Regions from separate parts of the Homo sapiens genome. Here all the other regions are linked to region 3. The links are contacts of gene promoters, found by promoter capture Hi-C in human tissues and cell types (Jung and others, 2019). All regions are on one chromosome and are shown on one strand. The core of a region is centred on a gene start or on the middle of the fragment in contact, and the rest is flanking DNA. Distances in the headings are between cores, read along the strand shown.

The links. Contacts are between HindIII fragments. The study calls those that stand out against the background at their distance.
Region 1: a fragment that was not itself captured here is called in contact with the fragment with the promoter of CYP39A1 in region 3 in 1 of the 25 tissues and cell types used here (mesendoderm cells).
Region 2: a fragment that was not itself captured here is called in contact with the fragment with the promoter of CYP39A1 in region 3 in 1 of the 25 tissues and cell types used here (dorsolateral prefrontal cortex).

Annotation. Positions count from the first base shown.
Region 1 is chr6:47,051,042-47,054,050 of GRCh38, reverse strand. No RefSeq gene overlaps it. Among named protein-coding and RNA genes, the nearest start is that of ADGRF1, 10 kb to the right of the region's middle. The HindIII fragment of the contact is 5,628 bases long and covers 1-3,009 here.
Region 2 is chr6:46,209,912-46,212,648 of GRCh38, reverse strand. No RefSeq gene overlaps it. Among named protein-coding and RNA genes, the nearest start is that of ENPP5, 40 kb to the right of the region's middle. The HindIII fragment of the contact is 3,629 bases long and covers 1-2,737 here.
Region 3 is chr6:46,651,306-46,654,310 of GRCh38, reverse strand. It overlaps CYP39A1 (cytochrome P450 family 39 subfamily A member 1), which reads left to right and starts at 1,493. Exons shown (of 12, transcript NM_016593.5): 1 at 1,493-1,905. The coding sequence starts at 1,729. SLC25A27 (solute carrier family 25 member 27) reads right to left here and starts at 1,336. Exons shown (of 9, transcript NM_004277.5): 1 at 1,013-1,336. The coding sequence starts at 1,118. RefSeq lists silencers at 899-998, 1,429-1,518 and enhancers at 1,179-1,308, 1,539-1,588. The HindIII fragment of the contact is 4,112 bases long and covers 1-3,005 here.

The DNA of each region.
Region 1 (3,009 bases), core at 357-2,856, 400 kb before region 3:
CTGGTAATTGTGTACGCTCAGCTTTATAACTGCAATAATCTGAAATGCTGTGATGGACAACCCACGTCTTTTGAGAAGAACAATAGAAACCTGTGATCACTCGCCACCGCATATGCAGTCACCCAAAGAGCCGAACCCTTGAGCAGTTTTCTCTTTTACAAAAGCAGATGCACTAAAAGGACATTTCTTCATTTATTAAGAAAGTTTCAATATTTTTACATATACACACGAGGCTTACACATGAAGTCAAATGTACTTTCATGGAGTCAAGTTTATAAAAAATGCATAGAATGAATTAGAACTCTCTAAAAGTCTTTACACAATTTATACCTCCAATATTGGAAATGAGGTAAAGATGAAATACATAGCATAGCAAATCGTGAAAAATAATGCTGTCAATTTAAAATAGTTGGGAATCAAAAATTTAAAAAGAAAAAAGAAGAAAAACAAACTCAAAAGAAAATTTACCATATGAAAAAGCAATTAGAGGGATAGACTATGCATAATTGCACATAGGCTGTTCATAAGAGCTGGCCAGCTTTCACTATCATTAGCTCTATTTTGAAGTCTTGCATCCAGATGATTCTCCTTGGAGAATATGTTCACTTTCATTTTCTATATGGTGCTTGCTCTTTTTGAAATCATTCTGTGATTCAATATACAACAACATAAGCATTCCCTATTGTTTTCCCATCTTCTGTACCACACTTCTAGGTTGCTTTGCGCATGCAAAGTCCATTCCGCGTGCACTTATATACAGACTACAAATTTGGTGGGAACTATACTGTTGATCGAACCCCAACACTGTTGTATAAGTGTCTTCCTATCCTACCAGGCACATAATTATTTTTAAACTAGTCAGTAACTTTGCTGGCTTCTTCAGAGAAATGCGACTTTAATTCATTAAAAGCTCCTGGAATTTCACCAGCTGAAAGGAATGCCAGTGCAGACAAATAATGCATTATTTTTTTGAGATGAGTCTCGCTCTGTCGCCCAGGCTGGAGTGCAGTTGTGCAATCTCAGCTCACTGCAACCTCTGCCTCCTGGGTTCAAGTGATTCTCCTGCCTCAGCCTCCCGAGTAGCTGGGATTACAGGCCCATGCCACCACACCTAGCTAATTTTTGTATTTTTAGTAGAGATGGGGTTTCACCATGTTGGTCAGGCTGGTCTCAAACTCCTGACCTCAGGTGATCACCCACCTCGGCCTCCCAGAGTGCTGGGATTACAGGCGTGAGCCCCCGCACCCAGCCGAAATAATGCATTTTTAAAAGGAAGCTTTCATCATTGCCTTATCACATGGCCCATCCAGTCATCTGAATTGCCCTCCAAATGCAAATAAAGACAAAAACAAGGTAATAATAGTTCTGCCTGACATAATGCAACTAACATGATGCAACAACCCTGCTTACAGCTGAAAACTCATTCATACCTTCCCCAGAATTCAGGTTTCAGGGTTTCAACATTTGGGATTTATTGTGATTTTCAAGATTTTAGACTAGAGATTTTGATCCTTCGGTACTTCAACCCAAATTATGATTGAAATTACAGATTATCATGTTCAAAATTGCATCTTTCAGAATTATGATCAGCACTGCTTAATTATTTTATTTTATTTGATCATGTAGAAAATCAAGCCATATTCTTCTTTAGAGGAACTCAAAAGACATTAATTATCCCCAAATTTACCTATACACTTAACATAATCTCAATAAATATATCAATAGGTTTTTGTGGTGTGTGGGGAGGGGGAAAGTCAAGCTTATTCTAAAGTTTATATGAATAAATTAATAAGCAGAAATAGAAAAATTCTGAAAAGGAAGAATAATGAGGAATAATTAGTATATTAGATATAAAGATATATGATGAAGTCACAATAAACAGAGTATTAAGTTGTTCTTGAGCAGACACAGACGAATGAAATGAATACAAAATCCATGAATTGACCCAAAGTCACATAGGAATTTAGTATTTAATAAAGGTAGCATCTCAAATCAATGAGGCAAAGATATGTTATTCAGTCCATGGTGTGAAACAAATGAGTAGGTCAATGCAAAACAATGTTACTAGCACAAGTTAATTGCTACAGATTGTTTTTTTTTTTTTTTATTATACTTTAAGTTTTAGGGTACATGTGGACATTGCGCAGGTTAGTTACATATGTATACATGTGCCATGCTGGTGTGCTGCACCCACTAACTCGTCATCTAGCATTAGGTATATCTCCCAATGCTACCCCTCCCCCCTCCCCCCACCCCACCACAGTCCCCAGAGTGTGATATTCCCCTTCCTGTGACCATGTGATCTCATTGTTCAATTCCCACCTATGAGTGAGAATATGCGGTGTTCGGTTTTTTATTCTTGCGATAGTTTACTGAGAATGATGGTTTCCAATTTCATCCATGTCCCTACAAAGGACATGAACTCATCATTTTTTATGGCTGCATAGTATTCCATGGTGTATATGTGCCACATTTTCTTAATCCAGTCTATCATTGTTGGACATTTGGGTTGGTTCCAAGTCTTTGCTATTGTGAATAATGCCGCAATAAACATACGTGTGCATGTGTCTTTATAGCAGCATGATTTATAGTCCTTTGGGTATATACCCAGTAATGGGATGGCTGGGTCAAATGGTATTTCTAGTTCTAGATCCCTGAGGAATCGCCACACTGACTTCCACAATGGTTGAACTAGTTTACAGTCCCACCAACAGTGTAAAAGTGTTCCTATTTCTCCACATCCTCTCCAGCACCTGTTGTTTCCTGACTTTTTAATGATTGCCATTCTAACTGGTGTGAGATGGTATCTCATAGTGGTTTTGATTTTCATTTCTCTGATGGCCAGTGATGATGAGCATTTTTTCATGTATTTTTTGGCTGCATAAATGTCTTCTTTTGAGAAGTGTCTGTTCATGTCCTTCGCCCACTTTTTGATGGGGTTGTTTGTTTTTTTCTTGTAAATTTGTTTGAGTTCATTGTAGATTCTGGATATTAGCCCTTTGTCAGATG
Region 2 (2,737 bases), core at 187-2,686, 440 kb after region 3:
AACCAACCCAAATGTCCAACAATGATAGACTGGATTAAGAAAATGTGGCACATATACACCATGGAATACTATGTAGCCATAAAAAATGATGAGTTCATGTCCTTTGTAGGGACATGGATGAAATTGGAAATCATCATTCTCAGTAAACTCTCGCAAGAACAAAAAACCAAACACCGCATATTCTCACTCATAGGTGGGAATTGAACAATGAGATCACATGGACATAGGAAGGGGAACATCACACTCTGGGGACTGTGGTGGGGTGGGGGGAGGGGGGAGGGATAGCATTTGGAGATATACCTAATGCTAGATGACGAGTTAGTGGGTGTAGCGCACCAGCATGGTACATGTATACATATGTAACTAACTTGCACAATGTGCACATGTACCCTAAAACTTGAAGTATAATAAAAAAAAAAGAATAATTTGGGCTTTTAATAAGACAGTGGAATCCACTGGAATGGAAAAAAAAAAGAAAACATAATAGATACATATGTAAAGTCCTGTATTTATTTATTTATTTATTTATTTATTTATTTATTTATTTATTTATTTATTTACTGAGACAGGGCCTCACTCTGTCACCCAGGGTGGAGTCCAGTGGTGTGATCACAGCTCACTGAAGCCTCAACCTCCTAGGTTCAAGGGATTCTCCCACCTCAGCCCCTCCAAGGTAGCTGGCACTACAGGTGTGCACCACCACACCGGGCTAATTTTTTGTATTTTATTTGTAAAGATGGGGTCTTACTATGTTGCCCAGGCTAGACAACTCCTAGGCTCAAGTGATCCTCCTGCCTCAGCCTCTGAAAATGCTGGGATTACAGGTATGAGCCACCATGCCCAGTCACTGTTTGTTTTAAAAATGTAAATGCACAGGGAGAAAGAGAAGAGTTTGGAGAAGAGATAATAGAAGTTTGAGAGCCTTAGTTAATCAGCAACGCAGTATGTGTAAATACGGGGGAAGGGCAAAATCTGCTGTCTATGAGTTTCTGTTTAAAATGGTAGATGAAGGACATATATTTATTGCCCATCCAATCCCCAGAAATCTCCTGGAAATTACACAGAAGGTCATCAAAGGAAATATATATAATAGCCCTGCAACCCAATAAAGCATATCAACAGCTGTCTAGAAAATCTAAGTCACTTCTGGAATGCAGAAAGAAGTCTAACAGAGAAGCTAGAAATGACACAGCCTCAACAGATGACATGGAGAGATGAAGGCTACAGTGGATATGGGAGGATTCTTTCCAGCTGCGTCTAAGAGGCAATTCAAGCTTAGAGTCAATAAATATAAAAAGAAGTGGCAGGAAGTTAAAGATATGCATTAGAAAGAGTTGGAGCCAATTGAGCCCATCATCATCACTATTGCTGGCCCTATTTGCAGAATTGCCCCAAGGCCAAATTCCTAGGACTTGTCTTACCTGGTAAGGACTCCTAATGGGATTTGGGGAGCCCATCAGAGCCTCCGTAATCATACCTGACCTCCACTGAACACATGAATGAGAAAAAAAGTTTACTTCCTAGTTATGATGGAGCATATTTCCCAGTATCTTCACTGAAGAAGTGGAGCATGGAAGGTAAGTTTTACAAGATCTTGCATGTTTGAAAATGTCTTTATTGCACCTTCACACTCACATAATAGTTGGTTTGTGGAAATTTATTCAGGGTTTTGATGGCATCACTCCATTGCTTTCCAGCTTCTAGAAGGCCTATGTCATTCTAAATTCTGACCCTTTTACGTAAACTGTATTTTCTCCTGGAAGCTTTTAGGGCTGCTTTGTCTCAACTGCTCTGAGTTTCATGTATTTGATTTCTTATAAGTCCTTTCAACCTAGAAATTCATATCCTTCCATTGTGGACATTTTTCTTGAAGAGAGTGTATTAGTTCATTCGCGTGCTGCAAACAAAGACATACCCAACTGGGTAATTTATGAAGGAAAGAGGTTTAATGGACTCACCATTCAACATGGCTGGGAAGGCCCCACAATCATGGTGAAAGCCAAAGGAGAAGCAAAGGCACGTCTTACACAGCGGAACGCAAAAGAGAACTTGTGCAGGGAAACTCCCATTTATAAAACCATCAGATCTTTTGAGACTTATGTGCTACCATGAGAACAGTATGGGAGAAACCACCCCTATGATTCAATTATCTCCACTTCGCCCTGCCCTTCCCATGTGCTGTTTATTATGACTCAAGATGATATTTAGGTAGGGACACAGGAAACCATACCAAACAGCTTATTTGAAACTTTCCTCCCCTATATCTATCTCACTGTTCCCTCCTATTATTCGAAGGATATCTACTAGTTGGACCTTAAGTCTTCCAAAATTGTTCTCAAATTCCTGTTTTCTTTCTCTACAATTTTCTATCTCTTTGACTTTTTGGCTCTATTTTTCTGGGAAATTTCTGAAACATTATCTTTCAACACTTTTATTTATTTTTCTTTCTGTTGACATGTATTTAATTTCTGAGAGGATTTTTTTATTCCTGAATGTTTCTTTTCTATTACCTCCTGCTTTTTCTTTTTTTCTTTCTTTCTTTTTTGAGACAGGGTCTCACTCTTTCACCCAGCCTGGAGTCCAGTGGCATGATCACGGCTTACTGCAACCTCAACCTTCCCAGGCTCAGGTTATACTTCTGTCTCAGCCTCCCAAGTACCTGGGACTACAAGCATATGCCAACATCGTTGGCTAATTTTTGTATTTTTTGCAGAGATGGGGTTTCTCCATGTTGTCC
Region 3 (3,005 bases), core at 244-2,743:
TGGCTATGCTAGAATTAAAAAATAAACTCTTAAAATAGGACCAACTAACATTTACAAATGATAACGCATCAGAACTGTTCTTTTTATTTTTTTGTAACAGGCAAGAAAATGTAAGGGTAATCTTAAAATACACAGTTAAGGCTTCACAGGAAACACATGAGTATACTACTCACAAAATCCTTGGAATAAACGCTACTTGCTCATTCAAGGGCATCATCATTCCACTCTAGATGGCCTCTTAAAGTTTTTTCTTACTCATGTAGGCAGATGTAACTGCTCTTCTATGCTTTTATGACACCTAATAATATCTTCATTATAACAAGTAGCACATTATAATTGTCTTTCTCTGTCTCCCCAGCAGCCTGTAAGAAGGTCAGAACTGGGTCTTTTCAAATATATATCCACAGTCCCTGGTATTGTAGGAATTATAAAAATGTCGCAACTAATGGGTGTCCTGCCTTGGGTTTAGCAATCATATATTATTGACTTCTCAGAATCCTGCAAGGTAAACAGTATAGATGAATTACACTCAAAGAGGTCAAGTAGTCGATGCTCTGTGAGTGGCAGGTTAATAACGGAAGTCCCACAAGGTAGGTCCACAACTTGGACCCACAAGATAATGACAGTGTGGCTGTGTAAGACTATAAACCACAGAGATGATCTCAGTAAGGATGGAAAACAGATTACGTTTTTAAAAAGGTCATCCTCATGAAAAGGAAAATGATTCCTACAGAGGAATGACAGCTCGCGAAGCTTCTTAAAGTACAACATTCAAGCACCACAGCACATGCCTAAGGGAAGCATTAGAAGAGATTAGAAGGAAAAGGCCGTGGAGACCTCAATCCCTCCTCCTCCCACCGCGGGCCTGGCCTCCACCGCCACCTCTGCCAGGCGGGCATGGAAGGGGCGACCTCTCCGATGCGCACTGCCGGGCGCGAAGCCGCCCGCGCACCCTCCCCCAGCGCGGCGCGTGCCACTGGCCCGGGAGGCCCAGGCGTGGGCAGCCGGGTACCTAGCTCGGCCACGGTAGCCGCGCAGCCGGACAGTAGGAATTTGCTCGCTCGGGGCCATCTCTGGGTCAGCGGCAAAAGCCTCTCCTCCTCCTCCGGGACGGACATTCAGCAGTAGCGCAAGACGATAACGCACTCCTTCTCGCCGCTGCGCTGCACCGCGCCGCGGCGGCCGCTTCCCTGCCAGGGCGGCCCCTTTTCAACCGGCGAGTGGCCGGGTGAGGACCATTTCCCTCGTTCGGCTCGGCCGGGTGGACCCGCAACCTTCCTAGCAGTCCCAGCTGGAGTGGTCCAGCTGCCCCTTACACCCCAGAATAGAAAAACACAGCGGAGCCCAGGAGGTTACTGGGCAATGTAGTCCGCCGGGCTCCGCTACGTCTCTGATTGGCCGGCCGCGGGTCCCTCTGCGGCTCCGCCCCCGGCCTCCATGGCAACGCGGCTGGTTCTCGCCCGTCAGTCCTAGCCCGGCCCTGCCCCTCCTTGCATTTTTTCCGCGCTGGCTGAGATTCAAAGAGAAGTGGAGGTGGGAGGGAGCGACAATGGAAAAATCACCTGAAAACTGGGACAGAGGAAGGAAGCTACAGTTACGAAGGAGAGCTGCAAAAGTTGCAGCAGAAAGGTTGGGAGTCCCGACAGGTTCCGTAGCCCACAGAAAAGAAGCAAGGGACGGCAGGACTGTTTCACACTTTTCTGCTTCTGGAAGGTGCTGGACAAAAACATGGAACTAATTTCCCCAACAGTGATTATAATCCTGGGTTGCCTTGCTCTGTTCTTACTCCTTCAGCGGAAGAATTTGCGTAGACCCCCGTGCATCAAGGGCTGGATTCCTTGGATTGGAGTTGGATTTGAGTTTGGGAAAGCCCCTCTAGAATTTATAGAGAAAGCAAGAATCAAGGTATGTGGTCGTGGCAGACGGGGTCTCCAGAGGAGACAATGCTTTCTTTTTTAAACTTTCTTTCATTGACTCTTAAGTGCAGGGCTAGAACACGGGGAACATACCTGCTTGCCTCAACTAAAGGATCTAGTCATTTCTGAATTCCTCTACTAACAATTAACAACAATATCCTGTGCAAAATTTTGCGAAAGAAATGAAATACAATTGCAGCGTGCATCGACATTTTTGGAAGTAGAGATTAACTTTTCGTATTTTTACTTCATCGAAGTTAAGTTCCAAATGTGTATGTGTTAAGTAAATGTTTTCAGTAATTGGGAAAGATAAAGTGTAATCCAATTTAAGTTTGTGAAAATGAGTAATTCGTATCCAAATTGGAGTTAACACCAAAGTATTGTACAAATTGCTTGCACAGTTGGTCCGTACACAATAAACAGGCTCTGTATTTTTAGCTGACGTTGTTATTTGATGATGATGTACTCCATTTTCACTACGGCCTGAAGAGACTAGTAATCCTCCTTGTAGTAGATGTTTTTGTCTTGAAAGTATCTTTTAAATGTCTGAGCACTTTAAGGAACAGACCTTTATTAATGTCTTTTAAGTTTTATTCAATTTCCAGTCACAAATATTTTATGGTATTTGATTGTCTAATAAATTTGTATGATATTATAATTATTCTTATGAATTATAATACTTTCTGTGGTGACCCATTTTCCATCTGGTTAGCCCAATTTGTAGAATGAATTTATACGTAGTAGCATTATTTTACCACTGATCATTTGCCTTCAAAATCTCTGAGATTCCAATTTAGTAAAAAACATATAGAAAATTAAAGAGAACTAAGATGAAAATAAAAATAACCCAGAATATCACACCAGCTGTACTGTAAAAATTTAGTGTATTTATATTATTTTGGTCATTTTCCTATGTATTTACAACTATTTAATGAACAACAATGGAATAATAGTATAATACTCTTTTATGTGCTTTTGATTTTAACATATAATGTGAATGACTTTCCTGTACCATGAAATACTTTGAATCTTCCTTTTATGGCTATATTTTGTCATAGGAGGATACAATAGTTTACTTAAATCTCAATA